Linked DNA regions of Homo sapiens: region 1 is linked to region 2. The links are contacts of gene promoters, found by promoter capture Hi-C in human tissues and cell types (Jung and others, 2019). All regions are on one chromosome and are shown on one strand. Each heading gives the region's core, a stretch centred on a gene start or on the middle of the fragment in contact. The rest is flanking DNA. Distances are from core to core; before and after follow the strand shown. Region 1 has its middle 220 kb from the start of TFAP2C. Region 2 holds the start of TFAP2C (transcription factor AP-2 gamma).

Evidence for each region. Contacts are between HindIII fragments. The study calls those that stand out against the background at their distance.
Region 1: a contact is called between a fragment that was not itself captured here and the fragment with the promoter of TFAP2C in region 2, in 1 of the 25 tissues and cell types used here (H1 embryonic stem cells).

What each region holds. Positions count from the first base shown.
Region 1 is chr20:56,847,008-56,854,232 of GRCh38, forward strand. No RefSeq gene overlaps it. Among named protein-coding and RNA genes, the nearest start is that of TFAP2C, 220 kb to the left of the region's middle. RefSeq lists a silencer at 1,562-1,707. The HindIII fragment of the contact is 7,669 bases long and covers 1-6,919 here.
Region 2 is chr20:56,625,881-56,632,951 of GRCh38, forward strand. TFAP2C (transcription factor AP-2 gamma) reads left to right here and starts at 3,426. Exons shown (of 7, transcript NM_003222.4): 1 at 3,426-3,712; 2 at 5,325-5,810; 3 at 5,925-5,976. The coding sequence starts at 3,665. RefSeq lists an enhancer at 1,213-1,973 and silencers at 3,337-3,396, 3,453-3,747. The HindIII fragment of the contact is 13,903 bases long and covers 1-7,071 here.

The sequences.
Region 1 (7,225 bases), core at 1,835-4,334, 220 kb after region 2:
GGTGCTCCTGGTCTTTGGGCGTTTGTTGAGGAGGTGCCTGGGGTTAGACTGGGTCCAGAGGATGCTCTGTTGATCATGCTTGTTGGGAACCCCACAGCTCCTGAGGCTAGTGACACACACAGTCTCCACTGACCCCTGAGTCCCAGCTGGAATGGGGGTTTCCAAGTGTGATGCTGAGCCTTGGTTCCTTCATCTAAGAATTAGGTGACAAGAGTGTCTGCCTCACAGGGCTGTTGGGAGGATTAACTGAGATGGTGCCAGTCAGGTATCAGGCACCGTCTTCTATATGACACAGTGCTTGTTATATGGAAGGCTCCATAAGTCTCAGCCTTCATAATGGTAATGGGGAAGAGGATGAGGAAGAGAAAGAGGAGGAGGAGGAGGAAGAGAATAAGGAAGAGGAGGAGGAAGAGAATAAGGAAGAGGAGGAAGAAAAGAAGGGGAAATGAGGGAGAGATAAAAATAAAGAGATCATCTGGTCGGGTGCAGTGGCTCACACCTGTAATCCCAGCACTTTGAGAGGCCAAGGTGGGAGGATTGCTTAAGGCCAGGAGTTCGAGACCAACCTGGGCAACCCAGGTCTCTACAAGAATTTTAAAAATTAGCTGGACATGTTGTTGCACACCAGTTGTCCCAGCTATTTGGGAGGCTGAGGCAGGAGGATTCCTTAACCCCAGGAGTCTGAGGCTGCAATGAGCCATGATCACACCATTGCACTCCAGCCTGGGTGATAGAGTGAGGCCCTGTCTCAACAAAACAAAACAAAACAAAACAAAGGACAACAAAAAGAGAGACGATCTGAGATCATTGCTCAATTTCTTTGACTATAAAGTGGGAATAAGGCTGAGTGCCGTAGCTCACACCTGTAATCCCAGAACTTTGGCAGGCTGAGACAGGTGGATCACTTGAGGCCAGAAGTTAGAGACCAGCCTGGCCAACATGGTGAAACCCCATCTCTACTAAAAATACAAAAATTATCCGGGCGTGGTGGTGCACGTCTGCAATCCCAGCTACTCAGGAGGCTGAGGCGTGAGAGTTGCTTGACCTCGGGAGGGGGAGGTTGCAGTGAGATGAGATGGCATCACTACACTCCAGCCTGGGTGACGGAGTGAGACTCTGCCTCAAAAAACAAAACAAAACAAAATAATAAGTAGAAAAAATAAAGTGGGAATAATAACAGATCATCTTTCAAAATGTTGTAGAAAAGATGAATTGACATGACGTCTGCTAAGTGCTTAATATTGTGCTCGGCACATACTAAGTGTTCAATAAATCTTAGTTATGACAACACTTTAAGCTTCAACAAAATCAGGATAATAAGTCACCTTCTTCATAGGTTGTGGTGAAAACTCAAGATCACGTATTTGAAGTGAACAGAAAGTGCCTGGTACCTGTCAGACCTCAGTACATTGTCACTATTATTCAAGCAGAGGTGAGGAACTGTCCTTCTGATTGAGCATGTGGCCTCAAGGGGGACAGGAGCTGGGCCTGGGAATCTTCTGGAGAGAATGGAACTGAATTATTGCCCGGAGCCGGTGGAGTCTTCCAGGCAGAAGCAGCTCTCAGGGGGCAATGTCTGGCTGCTCCTGGCCTGGCTCACGACGGGCTGCAGCCTTTGTGGCAGGCCTGTCCTGGTGGCACCATGTCTCCCTCTCCATCCTTTAGTTTTCTCGCCAAAGGCCGGGGAAGCCAGGGCCAGTGTGAGTGCTGCCTCTGGGTGGTCTCCACAGTGCGGGCGGTGACTCCACTGCCCCCAGCCCCTTGACATCTGCCTTCTGTAGAGCACAGGTTGTCACCAGTTGACACTTACACAAGCCAGAAGCAGGCCCGGCCCACACTCATTGCCATAATAAACACACGCGGTAGTTTCTGAGAGCTGAGCTGTCCCATCCATCAATCCAGCGTGACATGCAAAGGGCCCCCGTGGTGGGAGTCGTGACTTCAAAGGTCAGAGCCTGACATCCAGGTGTGTGCATCAGGGATGCTGTGTGTCCTGGGCTGCAGTGGACGGCGGAGGTGAGCCATGGGGTCTGCGTGGGTGTGAGAGTCTGCGTGCATGCATGTGTGTGTGCATATAGATATGTCTATACACATAGGTGTGTGCACATATGCATGTGTGTATGTATGTATGTGTATATTCGTTTGTGTGCATATGTATGTGTGTGCATATGTGTAGGTAGTGTTCACGTGTGTATGTGTATATGTGTGTACATGCATGTATGCATGTGTGCACATGTATATGTGTGTGTGCATGTGTGCAGGCGTATATATGTAGGTGTGTATGTGCATTTATGTGTCTATGCATGTATGCCTATGTGTGTATACATGTTGTTATATGTATACTCATGTGCATGTGTGCGCATGTGTATGTGTTTATATATTTATATGGTTGTGTGCATGTGTATATGTAATGTGTGCAAATGTGTGTGTGTGCAGGCAAGCACATTAGATCAGGAGATCTCAATTCAAACATGTTCAGCCGCCAGCAAGGTTGTATAAATGTGAAAATGGGATGGGATAGAGAGAAAGTGACTCTGGTCCTTCAAATATAGGGCACATATGGTATAGAGTGCCGAGGACTGTGGCAAACAGGAAGCCTGTATCCCTGAGTGCAGCAGATGCAACCTCGTTGCTGCTGCATGAGGAATGCGGATCCAGTGTTACCAGGAATCCTCATTTTTCAAGAGAAGCCAGAAAGCTGGATTTTTATGTGAAATGGCTTGATTTTTAAGAATCTATTGTCAGCCCATTGAAGGAGATTGTTAAATGTCTCCTGGGTCAAAGAAAACACATGTGAGGCTTGAATTTGGCCTGTGGACATCCAGTGAGCAGTCGATCGCCACTGTGGTCATTTCTTTCTGATGTAGAAGGGACTACCCTACCAAGCTGGGCTTTTCCCAGAAGATCCTGCACTGGCTTGGAGGAATGGATCCTAATGGGGTGGTTTTGCCCACAGGAGGCATTTGGCAATGCCTGGAGACAGTTTTGGTGATCAAAACTGGGTCGTTGTTGTTGGTGGTGGTGGTGGTGGTGGTGGTGGTGCGCTCAATACTGGCAGCTGGGGTAAAGCCAGGGATGCTGCTGAACATCCTACAGTGCCCGGGACAACCCCTAGCCTACCCCAAGTTAAAGAATAATCTGGCTTGGCCGGGCACGGTGGTTCACGCCCATTATACCAGCACTTTGGGAGGCTGAGGTGGGTGTATCATTTGAGGTCAGGAGTTCAAGACTAGTCTGGCCAACATGGCGAAACCACGCCTTTACTGAAAATATAAAAATTAGCCAGGCTTGGTGGCAGGCACCTGTAATCTCAGCTACACGGGAGGCTGAGACAGGAGAATTGCTTGAACCCGGGAGGCAGAGGTTGCAGTGAGCAAAGATCATGCCATTGAACTCTAGCCTGGGCAACAAGAGTGAGACTCTGTCTCAAAAAAAAAAAAAAAAAAAAAAAAAAAAAAGAATAATCTGGCTCTAAATGTTGACAGTGAAGTGAGGTAGCTGAGAAACCTTGAATTAGAATCATCCCGAGGGTGATTTGAGAAGGCCAGCTTCTGGTTGTGGAAATTCCTCACTTATGAGCAGTGGCCTTTAGGAGTCAGTTTACACCTGATTTAAAATGTCCTCCAAAGGTCATCTTTCCAGCCTAGTGGCCTGTCCAGTGCTTTCCTGACATGCCAGCCCCGTGATAGGTGTGTCACATGTCTGAAATCAGCAAACCTCTCAACTCCCAGGAGACAAACCACTTTTATCCCCATTTTACAGGTGAGAATACTGAGACAGAGAAAAACCGAGCAAGAGTCTGTGGTCACACACACACATACACACACACCACACAGGAAAGTTGGTAGAGCCTGGATGTACTTTGGACAGTCTGACTCCAAACCCACCCCCTTAATGACAGGTCTACACTGTGAGAAGACATGGACTGAAATTGTTTTGCATTCTCTTGCACATCTGAGAGTTTGCTTGACTGCTTTTTATGCCTGGAACATTCTTCTCTTGGAAAACACCTACTTAACTTTCAGGGCTCAGTTCTAAAAGCTCCTTCTCCCGAACGTTTCCCCCTGAGGAGGGACTAGGTCAGGCACCCAGTCTGGGGTTCCTTCACCAACAAGGTGTTTTCCCTAACAGAGATCATTTCTCATTTACTGTGATTGCTTCAGTTTCTGTCTTATTGTGGCATGAGCATCCATCACAGCCATGCTAATACCTGGCACATGCTAGGCACTGACTAACTGTTGAATGAGCGGATCAATGAATGGATGGGTGTTTCCTTGCTTCCCAATTAGCTTTATTTCTGAACTTTGCAGTTGAGTCTTTTTGATGAGCTAGGCGCTGTTCTAAGTACTTTACGTGTATTAACTTGCTGATCTTTGCAACAGTCTTATGAGGTAGGCATTATTACTATCCCTGTTTATTCTCATTTACTCAACTTCTTAGGCAAAGAGAAGTTAAGGAACTTGCCAAAGTCACACAGCTAGTAAGTGGCAAGGACTTCTTCAGTGGCTGCCGCAGTGACTTTCTGCAGGCCTGGGAACAGAGCTGAGCTTTGTTCTTGTCCTAACTCTCTGGATCTCCAGATAAGGGCTCAGTGAGCTTATATTATGTGACTCAGGACAGATTCACATACAAACAACTATTTTACCGAACATCTACAATGTGGTGGGCATTGAATTAATTGAAGTGGTTATATTTTCATGTACCTTTGTCATTTGTATCTCTTGTTTAAGTATTTGCTTGTTTACATCCTATTAGTATATTTGACTGTCTGTTATTGATTAGCAATTACTCTTTACATATTAAGGCTCTACACAATATGTTTGTCACCTTTTTCATATTTCCCCAATTTAGTTATTTTTCAACTTGCTTATACTTTTTTATTTGCTATTCAGAGTTTAATTTTTAGGTAATTAAAAATGTTTTTTATGGTTTTAGTCCTTAGTACCATGCTTTGAGACTCTTTTTATCCCCAAGATTATAAAATATTAATTCATAGTTATTTTTCTATTCCTTTTAGTTTCACTATTTACATTATTTGTTTGCTTGCTTATTTAACATTTTAATCTTTGGTCCACCAGGAATACATTTTGCCATATGAGGTGAGGCGAGAATCTCAGTTTGTTTATTCAATAGGTCTACTTTTACACTCCCAAGAAAAACTCATTGCTTTGACTAAAATAGGCAGCCAAAAATGTTACAACGTACAGTTGAGCAGATCAGCTCATAAACCTACTTGCCCTTCAGTGACTGAGAGATAGCATGCCGTGTGTCTTAACCATGTAACCGGCGGATGTGATCACGTTAGACTCTGGATTTTTGACAGATGATGCTTTTTTAGGCATTTACTTGGAGGAGATACAGATACTCCAGACAGGACGTTTGCCCATTACACAGCTGCCCCTGCACTAACTCCCCCCACCTCACCTTGCCACCTGTCAAATTACCCCTTTATTCACACGCCTGCTGGGGACCCCTTGGTACATTACCAGTTTTTAAAATGTGATATCAGTTTTGGTGATCTGATTGGCAAAGATGAACGAGGTCAATAACTCCTGCTGTGGCAGCTACGGAGGGAAAAGGGCCGTCTTGATCCTCACTGTTTTGAATGTGTAAAGTGGGGGTAAGGTGGAGGTAGGGGGCTCTCTGCAGAGCGACACCCAGGCTGGGCACTGGTCACTGTGTTGTGGGCCTTACATTCTTTCGCTAGGCCTCCAAACCACCGTTAAGAGGTAGGAACTATCTTTAAGTCCATTTCACAGACAAGACCACTAAGGCACAATGAAGTAACCTGCCCAAGGTCAAGTATCTGGTAACTACAAACCCAGGCTGCCTGGGGTCTACACTACAGCCTTGTTCGGTTTGCAGTGACAGCCTTCAAGTCCTGCTTACTCTCAACCCAACAATTGTCTCTATAGGATTGATCCTAGGGAAAGAGTTGTGGATGGGTAAGCAGATTTGGGATGAGGCTGTGTATCAGAGGGTTGTTTTTTGATTTTGTTTTTGAGACGAGGTCTCACTCTGCCACCCAGGCTGGAGTGCAATGGCATGATCACAGCTCACCCCAACCTCTGCCTCCCGGGCTCAAGCGATCCTCCCATCTCAGCCTCCGAGGGTAGCTGGAGCCAAGGCCTGTGCCACCATGCTCAGTTAAGTTTTTGTTTGTGTTTTTTTGTAGAGACAAGGTTTTGCCACGTTGTGCAGGCTGGTCTCAAACTTCTGGGCTCAAGCAATCCACCCTCCTTGGTCTCCCACAGTGCTGGGATTACGGGCATGAGCCACTGTGCCTGGCCAGGGTTTTTTTCAACAGTGAAAAATTGGAATTAACCTAAAAGCCCATCAATAGTAAATCAGTAAATTCTACTATATAGTATTGCATATCCTGGACTGTGATGCAGTTTTTAAAGAGTTATAAAATCGATATGCTTTTTTGATACATACAATTCCAATATATCATTGCAGTTTACAAATTATAATGTATGGCATGATGTCATTTTTGTTACTAAAAAATATACAGGCATAGAAAAAAAACGGGAGTTGGAGCTGGCCTTGCCGGCCTCAGCACTAGTGACATTTTGGGCTGGACGGCTTTTCGTTATAGGGGTGTGTCTTGTGTGGCATGTTTAGCAGTATCCCTGGACTCTATCCACTAGTTGCCAGCAACATTTCTCACTACTGGGGGCCCTAGTTGTGACAACAAAAAATGTCTCCAGTCATTGGCAAATGTCCCCTGGGGGGCAATGTCACCCAGTTGAAAACTACTGGGTTAGGGCCGGGCGTGGTGGCTCACGCCTGTAATTCCAGCACTTTGGGAAGCCGAGACCGGTGGATCACTTGAGGTCATGAGTTTGAGACCAGCCTGGTCAATATAGTGAAACCCCGTCTTTACTTTAAAAAAAAAAAAAAAAATTAGCTGGGCGTGGCAGCAGGCACCTGTAATCCCAGCTCCTTGGGAGGCTGAGGCAGGAGAATTGCTTGAACCTGGGAGGCGGAGGTTGCAGTGAGCCGAGATGGCGGCACTGCACTCCAGCCCAGGTGACAGAGCAAGACTCCATCTCAAAAAAAAGAAAAGAAAAGGAAACTACTGGGTTAGAACTTCCTCCTTGTCTCCTCCCTCCCTCCCTCCCTCCCTCTTTCTTTCTTTTCTTCCTTCCAGTTTCTGCTCAAATGTTATCTCCTAAGAGGCAATTCCTGGACCGCTGCTGAAACAGCGCCCTTCCTTCCCTGC
Region 2 (7,071 bases), core at 2,176-4,675:
TCGGAAGCTTGGGAACCTGTGAGCCCCTCAGCTCCTCGCCTCACTTTGCCTGTTTGAAAAAAGGAGTTGTTTGAGAGGAAGAGTTAAGGCTCAAAAGGTTCTAAACGAAGAGCATGCGGCCTGACGCGGAGCGCAAAGAAGCGAGCAGTGAACTGAATCTGGTGGGACTGAGACCAGAGGCGTCTGTATGCGGCGGCCGCTTCGCGCCCTATTAAAGCAATCTGTTATTTACGATAATCATTTTTGTAATTATTTTGGAGTGGCTGTGACTTGATGTCTGTGGTGCCCCAGGGCATGCCCTTACTGGACATAGATACTTCAGGGTGCCCTTTGACGCCAGTGTCGGTCCAGTGGGTGCCAGTGCCGCGAAGGGAGGGTGGCGGGCGTGAATGCCCCCTCCTCCTGGGTTTGCCGCAGGCCCCGGCCTTTCCACCTTGCTTGATCCTGGCGGGTCTGCCACTTACTGAGGTCCCTACCGGCGCTCACGTTGTCCCGAGAGGCGGGACAAACGTCCGGCGCGTGGCGCGGAGTCTGCGAAAGCGCTCGGGGGCCTCCATCTTCTGCTCGGGAGTCCCCTCCCTGGGGCGGGAAGAGGAGTCGCAGATCTGCCCGAATCTTGCTCTACCCGCCTGGCCGCCTTCTTCCGTCTGGGGTGGGGGCAGGGGTGGCGGATGACTCAGGCCTGGGGCCGGGAGCCCTGTTTCCAAAGGCACCACCTCGCGCCTCTTTGGAAGTGGCGCGCTGTTGGGGCGCTCCCGCTGTTGCAGAGGCCTGGTTTGCGGTTTCATAGGGGCGTGGGTCCAGGGCTTCCAGGGAGTAAGTGAGTTTAGGCTCCCTAGGGGGCGGTAGAGGGGAACCCCCGACAACCTTCCATCCTCTTCTCCAGGCGGCTGCGAGGCCTCCGGGGTTCCAGAGGGGTCCCCTTCTGCCGGTGCCGGCTGTCTTGAGCGCGGCCACGCAGTCCGCGTCTTCACGTGGGCAAGGGGCGGGGACGTTGGAGGGAGGCTGTCTTGGATGCTGGAGCCTTCGGTTCCCGGCTCTGCTGAGCAGAAAAGTTGAAGTCAAGGAAGGGTTGAGGCTTCCTCACAAGGGCGCGCGCGTGCCTGGGTGCCGGCCCAGAAGCCGAGAATGTGCGTATTGGGGAAGGGTCTCCCGTGCCGAGAAGACAGAGGATTTGTTCTAGCTGCCTTCCGTACAGAGGGCGCGGAGGTTGCGCTCCAGTTCGAACGCTTACCCATTGGAAAGAGGGCAGCGCCGGGGTCCAGGGAAGCTCCTTGGGAATGAATGGCCTTTGCCAAGCGGTTCCGGATCCTCTGGGTCCTTTGGGCCCACGGCACGGTGCTGCGCGAGCCCTCAGTGCCCATCGGCTCCCTTCGCCTCCTGCGTAGACGCTCCCAGGCGGGGAGGCATATCGGTTCCTCCGGGCAGCTTTGGCTAGTGTTGCTGTGGGAAAGGAGAGCCAGGGCCTGGGATGGGGGATGAGCACCTTCTTGCCCATTCCGGGCCCCAGCGTGCAGGAGGTAAACTTGCCAGCACAGACAAGACAGCTTGTTCAAGCTGCACCTCAGGCCGGGTCAGAGAATAAAACCGAGGGCTAGAAGGCCCAGAATGTCGGACAGCCCAGCGGCACCCGTCAGGGAGTCCCAGGCGCCCGAAAGAGGCGCCGCACCTCTGGCGAGTCTAGGACCCATCTTCCTGGACCTGTGCTCTGGAGTGCCTGCGGGCCTGGGTCTAATTTCTGCTTCTGGCAGGTGTCCCCCTCCCCCGCCGCTAATACCAGGAGCGCTGCTTCTGCGGTAACTTATTTTACCCCCAGAAGCCTGTTTTGGGACCGAAGTGTCAGGGTCCTGTGTGTCTTTTTATGCACTGTTCTCCTTAGTGCAAAGCCCTGCAGATATGCTTGGCCGAAAAGTCTCAGTGGTTTCAACTTCCAGATTTTGTTCCCGCGTCCGGTCGGAAAATCACCTGGGATTTGGCTGCTGTCTAAGGCCGGGGGAAAGTTTCCCTTGGAGGACGCCTATTATTATTATTTTCTTTTAGGCCCACCTGGGTCTAAATAAATGCTAAAGTTCAAACGAACCCGAGAAGGAACAGCGAGGCAGTGGATGCCGCCATTCCGTGGATGGGAGAGTCATGTCTACTGCAGGTGCGGACACCGTACTGATAGGCATTGATTATTGCAAAATCGTATTCAGTATCAAATAGAAATAGTCTTGTCCTCTAATCCCCACAGAATGTTTAAATCCAGCCCAGGGAGCCAGTTGGGGCGTCCCAACAAATACGCCCTCGAGAATTAGCGATGTTCCCCTTACAATGAAAGTCAATTGCTGCATAATAACTGGGCCAAAGAATTTCGTTAGTTTAAATTTTAAAAATTAGTATTGCACTTTGCTTTCAAGTTTGGGTGGCAAGTACCGAAGGGGAGAGGGAAGCAGCGTTTGTGTGGAAGGAAGTTTCGTTTTCTGTCTAAACATGTGGGACCTGGGTGTCTACCTCTCCAGTCGAGAGCTCTCTGCAGGCTCTCTCCCAACTTCCTGCACCTCCTCACCCTCACCTTACCCGTGGCGCTCGGGTTTTATTCCTGCCCGGCGCTTCTTTCCCAGGGCGAGTAGAGGCTTCTGAGTGACCGGCCCGCCAGAGGCAGCTGCAGAGCCGGCGTTCCGCAGGGCAGGGCAGGGCCGGGCCGCTGGGCTGGTCCAGTGCGCGCGGGTTCCCCCTGGCCTCAGCCAGCCGCGGGAGATGCCACTTCGGGCGACAGCGGCGAGACGCCGCTGTCCGCAACTCCTGGGCGGGTAGGACCGTCTGCTGCCTCTGCGGCCCTTGGGGCAGACTCCCCAGGAGTCCCTTCCTCTCTCCTCCCGCCCGGGGGCCGGGACCGCGCTGTGCCCACGGAGGGAACTGGGCGTCTCTGGCGCACTGGGGCTCCAGCTGCATGATCCCAGCTCAGACCTTAAGCCTCAGTGGGGTGTAGGTGGGATGGGATGTGTTTTTAGGAGATGAGGAGACCCCGGTTGTTGAGTCGCTCCCCAAATGCGCAGTTTCTTAACTCCAGGTGACATCCGTCTTTTGGAGGAACGAGTGAAGGCCGTTTAGGCGAAAGAGGGGTGGGTTTCAGTATTTGGATCCCTTCCCCCAGCTCTGCCAATCTCAGGTGTGTTTACGGTGGAGGTGACAGAAGGAAGGCGCGTCGGGGGACCCAGGCCTCGCAGGTCTTCGGCTGTCAACGAGGCACCGCCCACTGACTCCGCGCTTCGTCCCTCACAGCGTGGGGCTCGGCGCTGCGCCAGGCCCGGGTGCGGGGCGGAGCTAGGCTGGGACTGGCTGGGGGCCGCCCCGCCCGGCGCCTGGGCCTCCGCGCCGGCCCCCGGGGAGGAGTTATGATAATTTCCTTCTCATTAAGGCGCTCGGGTCCCCCGGCTATCGCCAGGACACACTGTTCGGGCGCGGCTTTCCCCGTCCGCGGAGCGGTCTTGACACTCGCGGCGGCAGCATCTACGCTCGCAGAGCCGCCGATGCGTGTCCAGTGACCCGGACAGCAAGGCCCGCGCGCGGCGGGGGCGGCGGCAGACGCCTGGTCACCGTGACCCCGATTTTGGATTTACCGCTTGGGGGCTGGGGGGATCCTGGATTTAACTGGCGACTGTTTTGGGGGACGCCGGACGCCATGTTGTGGAAAATAACCGATAATGTCAAGTACGAAGAGGACTGCGAGGTGAGCTGGGGCTCCGGGGTGCAGCCCCGCCCCGCCGAGGACAGTCCGGGAGGCAGGGGCCACTGGACCGAGGTCGGGGACGAGGGCATAGGAGCCCTGGCCTCTCGGTGGGACGGGATCCACTTCTCCGGACACCCCTTAGTCCATTTCTGCGGGGCCCCTTTCCTGTATAGGGCCTTTTCCTAAATAGCCTCCCCTCGGGAACGAGGCCTGGAAAGAGAATGGCAAATCCCACCCACACAGCTTACCGGGCGCTTTCCTAAGCGGCAAACAGCCCTGCTTCCCGTTTTCTCGGAAAAGTGCCCCGTCTGCAACCCTCAGACGTGGCTTTTACGCACGAAGTCTCTGTCCAAAGGGGTCAGATGAGGCTACCTGCTAGCGACACCTTGGCGGACACTCCTCCAAGGCCGGCTTGTCACCTGCCCCGCTACCTCCTCGGGGAAGCACGAAAACAACCGAAGTTTGGCTTTCAAAAGAAGTGGGGGCTGGGGAGTGGTGGTGGGGGTGCCCGAGGCCAGATGGGGCCGTAAGAGCTCGCGAGTGCTCCAGCCTGTCGGACAGGTTGAGCTAGAGTTTCGGAGAGTGGGAGGGAAGAAGGAGGCGGCGAGCGGGAAGAGGAAGAAGACGCAGGCAGCGCTAGGCGAGCTCAGGGGCGCCGGGAGCGCGGAGCTCGGGCTACGGACTCGCGGGAGTTCACTGCGCCTCCGGGCCCTGGAGGGCTGCCCCTGCCCGCAGGCCCGGGCGCTTCCGCCAGGAGGCGACAGCGCCATGTTCCTCCAGGTTCCCGGCGCCCCGAGACCCCTGGGCAGATGGGGACGCATCCTTTAGAAACTGAGTCGGGCCGCCCAGGGGCGAGGGAACGTGCGCGGGCAAGGCTGCCCAATTTCCAGGGTTCTTCATGCCCCCTCTGCGCCCCGACGTGCGAGAACACTGCCCTTGGCAGTGCAGGGCGCCCCCACTTATTACTCCCCTCGGCTGGGCCCGGCCAGCAGGGAGGGCCGCCCTGTGCGCGCGCTCCCTCTTCACTTCCCAGGGCGGCGCAGGGTGGCGGGCCCTGCTTTCCGAGCGCCGCCCGCTCGGAGGTCTTTGTCCCGAGGGCGTGGAAGGGAGGGTCCCGGGGGCGGGGGAGGTGCGCATTTCCCGCGCCGCGCACTCTATCCGCGCCTGCCGCGCTGCCACCTCCAGCAGTCCCTGCGTCATGGGCGGGCTCCACGAGATAGCTCTGCACCGGGCGTCCGGCTCCTTCGCCCCGGGCTCTGGCTCCTTCGCCCCGGGCTCCGGCCACGGACTTTTCTGGCCCAAGACCCAGGGTTCGGACTTGGCGCCTCCAAGCGCCTCGGGCTTGGGAGCAGCGCCTAGACCTTCGCCGCCGGGCTTTGAGAACTCGTTCCCCCAGGTCTTTCACCAGACTCTCCTCCCTCCCCGCACTCTTTGCTTACAACGAAATCCTCGGGGCGCATTGCCCCCGGGTACCTTCCGACCCTGGGCAAGCCCCGCCGGGCGGGGTGCGGTTGGTCCCCCGGGGCCCTCTGCGTAGCCCGGCGATGCCGGCCAGTTCGCAGTAGCGGGGTTTCGCACTAACGGGGTCTCCTGTTTTTTTTTTTCCCTCCAGGATCGCCACGACGGGAGCAGCAATGGGAATCCGCGGGTCCCCCACCTCTCCTCCGCCGGGCAGCACCTCTACAGCCCCGCGCCACCCCTCTCCCACACTGGAGTCGCCGAATATCAGCCGCCACCCTACTTTCCCCCTCCCTACCAGCAGCTGGCCTACTCCCAGTCGGCCGACCCCTACTCGCATCTGGGGGAAGCGTACGCCGCCGCCATCAACCCCCTGCACCAGCCGGCGCCCACAGGCAGCCAGCAGCAGGCCTGGCCCGGCCGCCAGAGCCAGGAGGGAGCGGGGCTGCCCTCGCACCACGGGCGCCCGGCCGGCCTACTGCCCCACCTCTCCGGGCTGGAGGCGGGCGCGGTGAGCGCCCGCAGGGATGCCTACCGCCGCTCCGACCTGCTGCTGCCCCACGCACACGCCCTGGATGCCGCGGGCCTGGCCGAGAACCTGGGGCTCCACGACATGCCTCACCAGATGGACGAGGTGCAGGTGAGCGGCGCTGCGGCTCCTGACCGGACCTGTTCACCCTACGGCCTTCTGCCCCCACCCCGCACTCCTCTAGGCTCCCCCGAACTTAAGGGAATTTTGTCCTCTCTCCCCCAGAATGTCGACGACCAGCACCTGTTGCTGCACGATCAGACAGTCATTCGCAAAGGTAAATAGCAAGGTGGCATCGTCTAACTCTGGTCACACGATCTGGGCTTGTGAAGTTGACTGGCAAGGTTGGGGGTATTTGGTGGCCAGCGTGGGACATTTGTGGTAGAAGGGACTGAAAGGGATTCATGGAAGCTAGATTTTAGGAGTGACAGAAAGGGATTTCCCTCCGACCTCCTAGGAGCTGTCTCTTCATCTCCGGAGTTGTTACTGCCTAGTTTTTTTTCTTGGAAAAATGTCCATGAATTCCAGTGGGTGTTTCACAATGTGAGAGAAAGTCTTCCAGAGCGAGTGAACACTGATTTAACTTGAAAAACAACAAGAAAAAAGTCACAGGCACACCTTCGTTGAGTGGTTGGTTCTGTAACAATTTTAATTGTTGAATAAGTTGTGATTTTATTTTTGATTTCAAACACGTGTATGGAAAACCTCCTTAATTCTGACCTGCAAGAAAAGTTTTGAAGCAATTTGGCCTACCAAATGAATACCTGTAAAAGGAACAGAGCTTGGAATGATCTGTCAGAGGGAGAGTTTTGCAGGATGGGGAGGAGGGGATTTGGAAAATTGGATTACTTGGTGAGTGAGTGGTTTATGAAATTAAGTTACTTAACTGACAGGATTACCAGGATTACCATTTTGACTGTTTTGGGAAATAGAGTAGGCCTAAATTGAAGGTAGTTTTGGCCTGTTACTTGAACTGCTTAAATGGATTGAGGATGGAGGAAAAATGGATTTTAAAGAAAAACTCAGAAAAGACTACAAATTTTCAGTAAACTTAGAACGTATTAGTTTGGATGATTAAATTTACTGTGATCAACTGCACTGAAAAATTTTGGAAAGAATCTTAATGTGTCCTATGATTTTGGTTGTTCTTGAGGGGAAAAAACTCACCGTTTATTTAGTATTGAAGCAGTCTTCTGAAAACAAATGTTCTAATTAAATAGTTTTCAGCAGCTGCTAGGAAAAAAAAAAAAAGAAACCCTCCAAGCTTTGGATCTTCACTAATTAACTTCCCAAGGTGTTAACTTGTGAATTTCAGATTAGATTTGTCTCTGAAGTAGGGGGCTTTTTTAAAAAGTCAGCCATGGCCAGGTGC